Linked DNA regions of Homo sapiens: regions 2 and 3 are each linked to region 1. Evidence: promoter capture Hi-C in human tissues and cell types (Jung and others, 2019). All regions are on one chromosome and are shown on one strand. Each heading gives the region's core, a stretch centred on a gene start or on the middle of the fragment in contact. The rest is flanking DNA. Distances are from core to core; before and after follow the strand shown. Region 1 holds the start of AIG1 (androgen induced 1). Region 2 overlaps HIVEP2 (HIVEP zinc finger 2). Region 3 overlaps AIG1 (androgen induced 1).

Evidence for each region. The method cuts DNA at HindIII sites, captures the fragments that hold promoters and counts their contacts. A contact is called where the count stands out against the background at its distance.
Region 2: a fragment that was not itself captured here is called in contact with the fragment with the promoter of AIG1 in region 1 in 1 of the 25 tissues and cell types used here (hippocampus).
Region 3: a contact is called between a fragment that was not itself captured here and the fragment with the promoter of AIG1 in region 1, in 2 of the 25 tissues and cell types used here (H1 embryonic stem cells and small bowel).

The regions. Positions count from the first base shown.
Region 1 is chr6:143,059,075-143,062,762 of GRCh38, reverse strand. AIG1 (androgen induced 1) reads right to left here and starts at 1,874. Exons shown (of 6, transcript NM_016108.4): 1 at 1,697-1,874. The coding sequence starts at 1,837. RefSeq lists enhancers at 1,335-1,384, 1,985-2,114, 1,940-2,878 and silencers at 1,575-1,644, 1,895-1,984. The HindIII fragment of the contact is 7,626 bases long and covers 1-3,688 here.
Region 2 is chr6:142,903,085-142,906,772 of GRCh38, reverse strand. The region is part of intron 1 of HIVEP2 (HIVEP zinc finger 2); the gene reads left to right. Among named protein-coding and RNA genes, the nearest start is that of HIVEP2, 40 kb to the left of the region's middle. The HindIII fragment of the contact is 8,846 bases long and covers 1-3,688 here.
Region 3 is chr6:143,200,685-143,204,372 of GRCh38, reverse strand. The region is part of intron 3 of AIG1 (androgen induced 1); the gene reads right to left. Among named protein-coding and RNA genes, the nearest start is that of AIG1, 140 kb to the right of the region's middle. The HindIII fragment of the contact is 4,346 bases long and covers 1-3,688 here.

The DNA of each region.
Region 1 (3,688 bases), core at 625-3,124:
CAACATCCTTAACATAGTTAAGTGTAAACACTTGAAAAAGGGACATCTTTCTGGCGCTCTATGGGTGGTATGCTTGCTTCATATACATATGCATCAGAACCTCAGGGTTGCAGATTTAGCTCATTCAGTATACAGAAAATGTCTGCTACACAACATAATTGGCAAAGCCAATCCTCATTGACAAGCCAATCAACCCAATAAGACTTTCTGTCAAGGCAACTCCGACATTGTTGTTCAATCAAATATAAAGATAGCCCTGGTGACAACCATCTATCTTCTGGAAGCTAAAAGGAACAGACAGAAAAGCACACCTCAGAGTCTTGTCACGGGCTCCTCACTTGGATGAATGGGGAGAATGAAAGGAGAACTGGCAGGCATCACGCATGTTCAGAGGGAAATTAGTTTCAAGCAGAGTTGGAAGATGAGGATCTGAAAATTAAAACCCTTGCAACATTCTATACCCTGTGAAGTCTTGTGGGCCTAAGGGTATGTGCACAGTTTGGAGACTGCTGGGCAACAGAATTGAAATTCCACTCTGAAAGTATCTAATATAATGCAAATATAAGGTGTTATTTTTAAACCAAAAGCCTCTCTGCATTTCTTTGAGGCATCCTAAGCCTTTGGAAATTTTTAAAACAGGTATCATGTTCTCTTCATCAGAATGGAGGGTCAACAAGAGATTATAATCTTGCTGGTGTAGCCAACCAACTGTATAGTCTTGGATAAACAGTTCAGGGAGTCCCAGGAATTGGTTCTACAATTTCTCTGAGTGCTTTAGAACTTCATTGCTTTTGTTTTAAGCCTCTTCCTAATAATCTTTTAGCGTGTGTCTTAGTCACCTTTACCCTGAAATTCCTAGGTCCATCCATGAGTTCATTATTGGGCCTTATGCCCATGTTCTGTTCTCCAGGGAGGTTGAAGAGGGCCTTTTAGTGCCAGAAATAGAAAAACTTTCAAAATGATATACTAATAATAACCTGCACCTGTCAAGATTATCATATTGTGCCAACAGAGGAGCTGCTTATGCAAACTACTGTAAATTTGTACATGGGAAGACAGAGAAGTGTGTACAGTCACCTTGGAAATGCACTTTGAACATCTCTGTCTCCTAATATGTACGGGGTAAAGGTTGAAAGTAAATTATTGACAATGGGGGAAAAAAACAGATGCAAAGAAGACAACTTTATTAGGTGCTTTCTCTCCCTTATGAGAAGGATTTGGTTCTTTCAGGTGAAGTTCCAAATCACTAGACAATACCCAGTTTCCTTCAGTTGCAACAAGTTCATCCCACGGTGGGTGCTCTGAAAAGCACCTTGAGGGCGAATGGGTCTCAGGCCATTCAGGATCAGGTCCGATGCTTTTGTTGAAGATTCTTCCCGTGTCACCTCTTAGAAGCAGTTCGGTGTCCCCCTCCAAAGAGCCCACCACCTGGCTGCGCCCCACCTCCATTTGTCCCCCAGTTGCCAGGTAAGGGTACCCAGCTACCAGGTAACGGTGAGTGGTTCAGAAGGTGCCGCTGCGGGGGCAGCCAGGCCTTCACACGCAATCACTGGGGAAGAGGCGAGGACACGGGTGGATGCTGGAGGCGCGCACGTGCGCAGGTGCTCGCGCATCCACACACACACACACACACACACACACACACGCACACACAGGCACGGGGTGCGGGGCGAGCAGGGGGAGGGGACGGCCTTACCAGATCAATGAACGTCAGGAATTTCCAGCTCCCTCCGTAGGTCTGGTGTGAGGGCATTTCGATGGCCTTGTAGTTACACAGGATAGAGCAGTAAGACAGCAGGATTGCCATCCGCAGCACCTGGCAGGGGACAAGCGCCATGTTCGCCAGAGGCCTGGACCGGCTGGGCGGCAAGGAGGGCGGGCGTGAGGGAGGCGCCGGGCGCGCGGGGGCGGGCGCCGTGGGAACCCGGGCGCGGGCGCGGGCGCGGGGCGGGGCGGGGCGGGGGCGGGGGCGGGGGCGGGGCGCGCGCCCCCGGGGACTGGCGCGGCCGCGAGCGCCCGGGTGACCTGTACTGGCCGGGCGCGGTTTGCGGACGCTCTCCACTGCCGGCCGCGGCCTGGCAGGCGGCGTGTCGTCATCTCTTTCGTCACCTTCGTCATTCTGCTCCTGCGTTCGCAGGGTCCCGGGACACCCGGCCAGGAGGCGCCCCCTAGGCATCCCAGGTGTGGATGCGACCTCTGAGTGCTACGAGGGCTCGGGAAGTGCGCGCTGATCTCCAGGGGGAAGCGGGCCCTGTGGCTAGTGGGCGCCGGGCCGGGCGAGGGGGCGGGGAACCTAGACTGAAGGAGTGGACCCCAGTGTCCACAAATGTTCCCGCCCCGGAATCGCGGTGACGCTTCCTGGGGTAGTTGCAGTTGGCCGAGAGCTGGTGCCCCGTGCGGAGGGATCCGGTGGGGGTGTGAACGTGGGGTGTAAACCCGAGCACAGGCAGCCGCGAGTGACTTTCAGTATTTTGGGGCAATAAGGTTTTCAGTGTTGACAAACGACTGTCAATCACTAGGAAACTCTCTCAATTCTGCTTTCAATGGGTAGGCTACGCAGCACTTTTCCATGACAGATTGAATAATGTCATATCAGTATATAACATCAGCTAGAATATGAACTTTGGACAAGAGGTTTATAGATAAAAAGCTATAAAGAAAGGATTTTCAAATAACTTTCTGCCACAAGATTGCATTCAGCTTTAAAAAATTCCAATTTTGGATGTAAAACCCCTGCGTGTAATTTAATACTAATCATCTGGTTGTTAAACTGGTTTTGCCCTTACTTTTTTCTTACACTACACTACCAGGGCTTAATGGAAGGAAAATAAATATAAACTGGAGTCCCTCCTGCCTTCCAGTAAATGTTGTCACACTGAAGTTGCATCAGTCTGTGGGCAACATTTTCATTTCAGCCAACCAGTTGCAGGTTCGGATTATGAAAAGGCAACATAGGTATTTCCTGTGGATCCATTTAAAACAGGTGTCCTCTTCAAATAGTCTCTGAGTCAGAGGATGTGGAGGGAGGGCTGGTGGGGAGAAGCATAGTGCTAGAGGTAAAGAGAAAGTAGCAAGCAAGCCATGGATGTTTTCCTGAATGTTTCCAATCAAGCTCTAAACTAAAATGAAGAGACCCACTAGATTTTTTTAATTGGCATTATAATTATGCTAATAGAACTGATGTCAGAAGAAGATTCTACTAGCATTAAAACGATGTATTATTGATGATTTTTGGTTAAATCTTAATGTAAAAGTTGGCTTTATTTTTTTAATTGTGCATCCTTGGTACATGGTTATAAACTGCCAAAAAAATAAAAATAAAAAAGAGTAGATCTATTGAAGATCTACCTACCTTAATAATGTGTCTGGAATTGGTTCCTGCCGGTAGATTAGTGGTCTCAGTGACTTCAAGAATGAAGCGGCAGACCTTGGTGGTAAGTGTTACAGCTCTTAAAGATGGCACAGACCCAGAGTGAGCGATAGCAAGGTTTATTGTGAAGAGTGAAAGGACAAAGCTTCCACAGCATGAAAGGGGACTGGAGCGGGTTGCTGCTGCTGGCTGGGGTGGCCAGCTTTTATTCCCTTATTGTCCTCTCCAGTGTTCTGTTTCTGTCCTATGAGAGTGCCCTTTTTTCAGTCCTCCCTGCGATTGGCTACTTTTAAAATCTTGCTGATTGGTGCGTTTTAC
Region 2 (3,688 bases), core at 357-2,856, 160 kb after region 1:
GATATTGATACAATCCTTACTTTCAAAATCATTTTTATAAACACTTTCATTTTGCATATTACCATATTCTGATTTTAATGGCTGCATATTTTTGATCTAATTTAATGGTGACAATTTTCTAAAAATCCCCTTATTGCTGAATATTCATTTTTTTTTCTTTTGGGGTTGTTTTTCAAAGGGAATGAATATTTTTTATCATACATGGTCCTCATTTTCAAATTGCTTCCCATTTTTATCATGATTGTGCCAAAGTAAAAATTTTGACTGCATTGTTGTTTTGGTTTGCATTTTAATAATAATTAAAGAGGTTTCTTTATTTGTTACATTTCTTTGTCTGGATTGACTTGGCATATCTTTTCTAATTTATTTCTTAGTTATTTTTTGAAAAGTAAGTTTCTATGAGCTTTTTATATATTTTAAATATTAATTCTTGTTACCTTATATCTACTTGGTTCTACTATTTCTCAATGTGATTTAATTCTCGTTTTGTTATTTTGCACATTTAAATGATATTAGCTTTACCTAATCTAGATTATCTGTTTCTGGTTAGTTTTTCATGAATGCCTTCAAAGTTATTTAAAAATTACAGTGATAAAGATAGTGTTGTTCTCTGATTATTGTTATTATTAATTTTTTTTTGAGACAGAGTCTCACTCTGTCAACTAGGCTGGAGTGCAATGGTGCCATCTCAGCTTACTGCAACCTCCACCTCCCGGGTTAAAGCAGTTCTCCTGCCTCAGCCTCCCAAGTAGCTGGGATTACAGGCATGTGCCACCACGCCCAGCTAATTTTTGTGTTTTTAGTAGAGATGGGGTTTTGCCACGTTGGCCAGGTTGGTCTCGAACTCCTGACTTCCAGTGGTCCGCCCCCGCCTCGGCCTCCCAAAGGGCTAGGATTATAGGCGTGAGCCACCACGCCCGGACTGATTATCATTTTTTATGTTGCTTCTTGGTCTACTGTCAAGTGGCTTGGATTCTTACGGACTTGTATATTCTAAAACCATGACCATGGTGGGGGGAATTAACAGTTTGAACCATTAATAGTTAAAGGGTCTATTATGTCATATAATTTTTTCAGATTAAATGTAGATTTATAGATTGATAAATTAGACAGTAAATGAAAACTATATGCAGGAATTTCTGAGTACAGTGAATCTGGCTAGTAAATTAAGAATTGTATTTAACCTCAGGTTTTAAAAACAAAAATACTTATATTTATTAAACACTTGAAAAACACTCCATGTTTGGAAATTATTTTTTTCCATGAGCTTTTGAGCATTTGTAACACTACTTTCCAGTGTCTTGCTTTTAAAATGTAAGTAATAGTACATTTTTAAATGTGAGCTCAACTCACCGGTCGTTTGCAGAAATCATTTTAGTGGGCCCCCGTATTGATTACCTAAATCATGCCTTGTTGGTTTTCTTTTTCTGAGGCTCAGATCTTATTGTGTAAACAGGATGCACTTTTGGAATTTATAGTGCATTTCAAGATTTTCTTTATATTGGTTTAATTGATCTTATAATTATTTTAAAATAACCTAAGTTATCTGGTAATAGTTTATTGGTAGATGGTTGAGCAGTATCTTTCTTAACTCTTATTTAGAGATGGGAATTCAATATGTCTTCCAATATTTCATACAATGGAGGAAGGATTTAAAAAGTGAATGAAAGGTTGTTTTCCCTTAGTTTAAAAAGATAAATTGTAATATCCAAAATATTATAAAGTAAGTGGGCAACCCAAATCATCAAGATAGTTAAGAAAATATAATTAAGTCGGTTTTAACAAATCTTAAAAGGAGAGGAGTCATACTTGTTAGGACAAGCTTATGCTAATGACATATCAGCCTGTGTTATCCCAGGTCAATAGATATGAAAACCACAGTTTACCCAGGGTTACTTAACTGATAATAATAGTGTGAGGATAACAAATTGAACTGATACAAGTAGAAAGACTAAGAATGATCTTCGGGATAAATGAAAACAAATGGATAATAAACTGATCTTGCTGAGTAATATAGGTTATGGTGTTATGCTTTAAAATATCAGTATTAATAGAAATATTCTTATGTTCCTTTGTTCTTTTAAAGGGTAAAAAGGGCTGTTTATCTTTTTTTGATCATGTCATCAGTTTCATTGGGTTGCCTTATTTTCATTCAGAAAGAGTATGGACTAATATCCATATTGAATTATGATTTAGACTTGAGTGTACTGGTAGGAAATTTATCAGTTGTGTGTGTGCAATAGTGCTTGGAATGAAATGTCACATTCACCTCTGATACTGCACCTACTGTGTTTTCTCATAGGCTTAATTTTGCCTTTTCAAGTTTGAGGTCCTGTTGTTCAACATGAACAACAGCTTTACAAGGAACTATGTAATTTACATTGTTAAAGGAAAGTATATGTGACACTGTAACCTTTTTACTCTAGCATTGTTTTCAAAATGTTAATTACTAATTTTTCCGGAAATGATTTTTAAAGGTAAATGTATAAAACAGATGGGTAAATAATATTTGGGGAGGATAAGTGTGACAAGTGGGGAACAAAAGTAGAATGTGTGTCCTCAAATTCATCTTTGTAATTTCCCACTTTTTCATTTGGAGGTACTTGCCAAATACGAGTTGAAATTCAGACAGGCTGAATTGGGTTTTTAAGTCTAAAAATGACTGGAAATTTGGGTTTAATATTGCTATGAAGTTTTGTGTTTAGTCTGAGGTAAGTGAGCTTGCTGCATCTCAGTCACTTCCTGCCCCCTCCATATTCCTCAGTGCATAGCTGTGTTCCATCTCTGTGTATATAGTGCAAAATGATCTGTCACTGTTAGGACACTTCTGGTGGAAAAGGTTTTCAGAGATTTATTTAAAGTATCAAATTGCTACTAAGATGGAATTTTTTTTTTTTTGCTTTGGTGCAATCATTTGCTTTGTTTTGGTGCAATCATTAGCAATAAAGCAAGAATGAAATGGATGAGAGAAATGAGTATCGTAGACTCTAAGAAGACATCCTTGTTGATAACACTCTTTAAAAAGGAGTCCAAGAGAGCACCACCATAGTGGTGATTTCACCTTTTTGTTTTGTTTTGTTAACCTTGATATCAGAATTAGTGTGTGAATTAATGGGAACCACCGGAGTCATTTTTTTTCTGCAATTTTGTACTGGTATATATGCATATATGGTACTGGTACATTAATTTATGGGGTCGAGCAGGAATGCATAATGCATTAGTATTATAACATAGTTATAACATTAATATTTTGTGGATTCTTCAATACATAGCAATTAAAACAAAATGATTGTACTCCAAGTACAGAAATCAGGGAATAGTTTCAATAGAATTTCAACTTAAGAGATATTTACTTACATACTGAGAGTCCATCAAAGTGAAGTCCAAGTCCAGGACACTGTATAAGTGAAGTACTATGTTTATTTCAGAGTTTCTTAAATTTATGCTTACTAACTGGCATAGATAAGAAGGGAAATGGTGGTTTAAAGTGTACATTCAATCAACAGCAAGGGCTGAACTATTGAAAATGTTGTGTTCTGTGTCCAGAAAACATTTTATTTTCACATAATTGTTTAAGTGTCTCCAATGAACATTTACAATATTTATGGGGGTATAGTGCTTGTGGTTCAGTTAGCTCAGTCTTAAGTTCTGTGCCTGGGTAATGGTGTGTTGTTTAGCAGTAATTCTG
Region 3 (3,688 bases), core at 750-3,249, 140 kb before region 1:
GTGGAGGCCACATGTAGGCACTCTGGTCAACAGTTCTAGCTGAGCACAGACTTCCAGCCATTCCCACCAAGGGCACAAGACAATGTCAGCCAAAGACCACAGAGTCACCTCTGTCATCCACATGTGGAACAGAAGAATCATCCTGCTGAGCATTGCCTCAATTCCAGACCAACACAATCCTAAGCTATAACAAAGTGATTATTGTTTAAAGCCAGTAAGTTTTGAGGAAGTACATTATACAACAGTGGATACTGGAACAGGGCCCTCTCTAACCTTTAGTTTTGCATTTTTAAACTAATTCCCTTCCTTCTTCTATCTACAAATCTGCTCAATTTTTCCCAGTGTTAAAATTTTCCCTCAGTCCCACCATGTTATACAATAAAACTCTGCTTCCCTCAGTGGTAGCCATCTCTAAAAGAGTACTTTATACCTACTGTTTTTATTTTCTCACTTCCCACTCTGCAAACACAAGGCAATTTGGTTTTCACAACCTCCATTCTAAAGTGGCAGAATTTCAAAATTGGAAGAGACGTAAAAGGCTAAAATCATCCAGCCATGTCTTCTGTCGAATTCTTCTTCATAAGGTCCCTTCTTTGTTGTAGGTGTCTCATCCATGATACAGCATCTCAAGGGATATGGCTCATGGATCCAACCAAGGATATTCATTTTATCTCTGGATATCTGAGACTGTGAGAAACTCTCTCTGATTCTATACAGAATTCTGTTTTTAAAGCTTCCATCCATTGGTCCTAGTTTTCTTGCTCCTAAGTACATAGAGAAGCCTAATCTCCCCAGTTTAGAGGGCACAGTCTAGGTAAGACATAGATTAGGCACTGGTAGTAGAGATGGAGAGAGGTGAATATATCTTCAACTTCTTCCAGTCTAAAACATTTTACTGAAATTTACATGCATCTTGAAATTAATGTGGAAAGTCAAAAGGTGAATTTTGTAATCACCCTTTATCTTTCTTGAATGTAATTTAACTTAAGGTCTCGAGCCACTATTCCATCTGGCTGTGGGAAACATGGAGATAGTAGAGTATAGAACAGTACAAAACAGTGTGGAGGTTTAGAGAATGGACTGTGAAGTCAGACTGCCTGGACTAGAATCCTGGCCACAGGACTGTCTAGCTATGTGACCTTCAGTAATTCAGCTGCTGAAACTACAGCCATTTCCAAGAGATTAAATCTTGTTCAGTTATTTTGCAGTCATATTCAGAATTTAAACATGATCAAATTAGAGTTCTAACTTTCCTTATCTTTTCCTGGGATAGTAATTCTAAGAAGGCCCATATGTATCATGGCATCATAGGGGAGGTATCTGGTTCATTACCTTCTCATCTTTGATGGAGACTTCTACCCACACTGCTTTTGCTGCAGACATTGTTTCTGTTTCCACAGCCTCCAGCACAGAGAATGCACATCAAATTTACTAATGATGTTCCCTCATCAGGTTATCAAGGCCCTTCTGACTCTCTCAGGGCAGCCTCTTGGGACATGAATCTTAAAATATTTTCCATGTTGCTGGGACACCTCCGCTAGTGATTGCGGCCTTCCACTCCTCTGTGATGCTGCTTGCTTCCTCTCCCGGGAAGTGAAGCTCTAGAAATCAAATCCAGGTTCCCCATATGCTGGGATTTCTCAAAACACTTCTGGGGTTTCAGTGATCTCCCATTCCAGGGGCACGAGGGAATGCAGAACCTTCTCAGGGTCCTTCAGCACCTAAACTGCAGATTCTCCTCCCGCCAGCAGCTAAAACATAATCTCTTTTGGGACAAGAAGCTTCTCTGACATCATCCTTAATTCTCCCCAAACTCTACTGTTGATGTGAGAATTGTCAGGCTTTAGTCCTTGATATGCAAAGGAAACATTAAAGAATTTTTTTAAGTTTATCTTTAACAAATTCTGTCTTATAATTCAAACCAAACCAAATCAAAAACCAACCCTGGCTCCTGGCTATCTTTTATGAGTTGCATGACCCAATTTTAGAAGTCAATAGCCAAGAATCTGCCTGTTTTTTTGTGATTAGCTGTCCCTGAGGATTTTAGCTTCAGGGACATGAAGTAAAAAAGGAATTACCAAGAAGGAAAAAAACTTGGTTAGAATTTTAAAAGGCAGGCCCACTATAACTACACTTGATTTGGTAGTGCTTACTTTATTTCCTGAAAACTGTTATTAAATTAAATTGATGGTACCTCTTACATCAATGGCACAGTAGGAATGAGAGGAAGAAGAAATCCAGAAGTCGTTTCTCGGCAACACGATATAAGAGAGTTGGTAAGAGTAGACTTGAATAGCCTGGATTTAAATTGTGGGTTTGCATTAACTGGGTATCTTTGTGCCATTTACTAACTTTCTAAGCCTCAGTTCCCTCATCTGTTATTTAGGGCAGTGTCTGGCACAAAGCAAATACTCAAGCAGAGTTCGTTGTTCTGATGTGTTTGATGTGGAAGAAGGTACAGAAAAAACGTAAGGATGGCTCTACTCATCAGGTTTACAACTAACTTGCTAGTTCCTGAGGTGGAACTAGAAGCAGGCTATCTTTCCACCAAATCATTGTGCCTTTCCAGATTGAATAAAATGCAAGCCTACTTTAATTTCATTTTCTCAAGACCTAGTAGGATAGGAAGGAAAGGATCCCCAGGTCCGTAACAAAGAGGAGAATTAAGCGTTAATAAAGGTTGGGCATAGTAAAGGTTTTGGAGATGTCCACACTGGTGGATTTCTAATCTGATGGATAGAAGAGCAACATCTGCATCTCTCAGATTATTCGTAGGGTCCCTTCTACTTGTGGGACCCACGGAGGATAGTCCTGTCTGTAACCAAGTGTGGTCAGACTCAAAGAGCTTAACTTCTTAGTATAAGTAGCCCACAATATCCTTTAAAAATATATAGCGCAAAGGCAACCACAGATTTAAATTTAAAGCTAGCACTGGTGCCTAAATCAAACAGCTATGAAGCAATGAAGTTACATCAGAAAGATTTACCTTTTTAATTTTTAAGATTTTTTTTTTTTTGAAACAGTCTCACTTTGTCACCTAGGCTGGAGTGCAGTGGTATGATCATAGCTCACTACAGTCTCGAACTCCAGGGCTCAAGCAATCCTCCCACCTCAGCCTCCCAAATAGCTGGGACTACAGGCACAAGCCACTGTACTCAGTTTGGGAACTTTTCTTTTTAAGGACTACAAACTTCAGCCACTTTGGGAACAGTCTGGGGTTCAAAGAATATTTCATAATAAAGTAGTATCTGCTTGGGCTTCCTGATAGAATTGTCCCATGGACTCTCTGCAAACTAAATGATTTACTTTACTGTCTTGAGCAGCAAGGTAGATGGCGATGACTGATATTTACTGAGACGGGAAATAGGTTTGGGAGGGATGTGGGAGTCCAAATTTCAGTATGGATGTATTACATAGGAAATGTCTATGGGAAATCCACGAGATACTCGGTAGGTTTAGAACTCAAATGAGATATAAATGTGGGTGCTTTGTTGACTTTTGTGGGATGAAACTGTGGAGTAGGAAGAAATCCCTCCAGAAGAGATTGTAGGAAGAGAGGCAGAGTCCAGCAATGGTCCTGAGGCAACACAATACGTAAATGTCCAGGAGAGGAGGAGCCTACAAAGAAACGGAAAAGCAAAACCAGAGGCCAGGAAGAGAGAGTTCCAAGAAAGTGGGACTTGCCTGA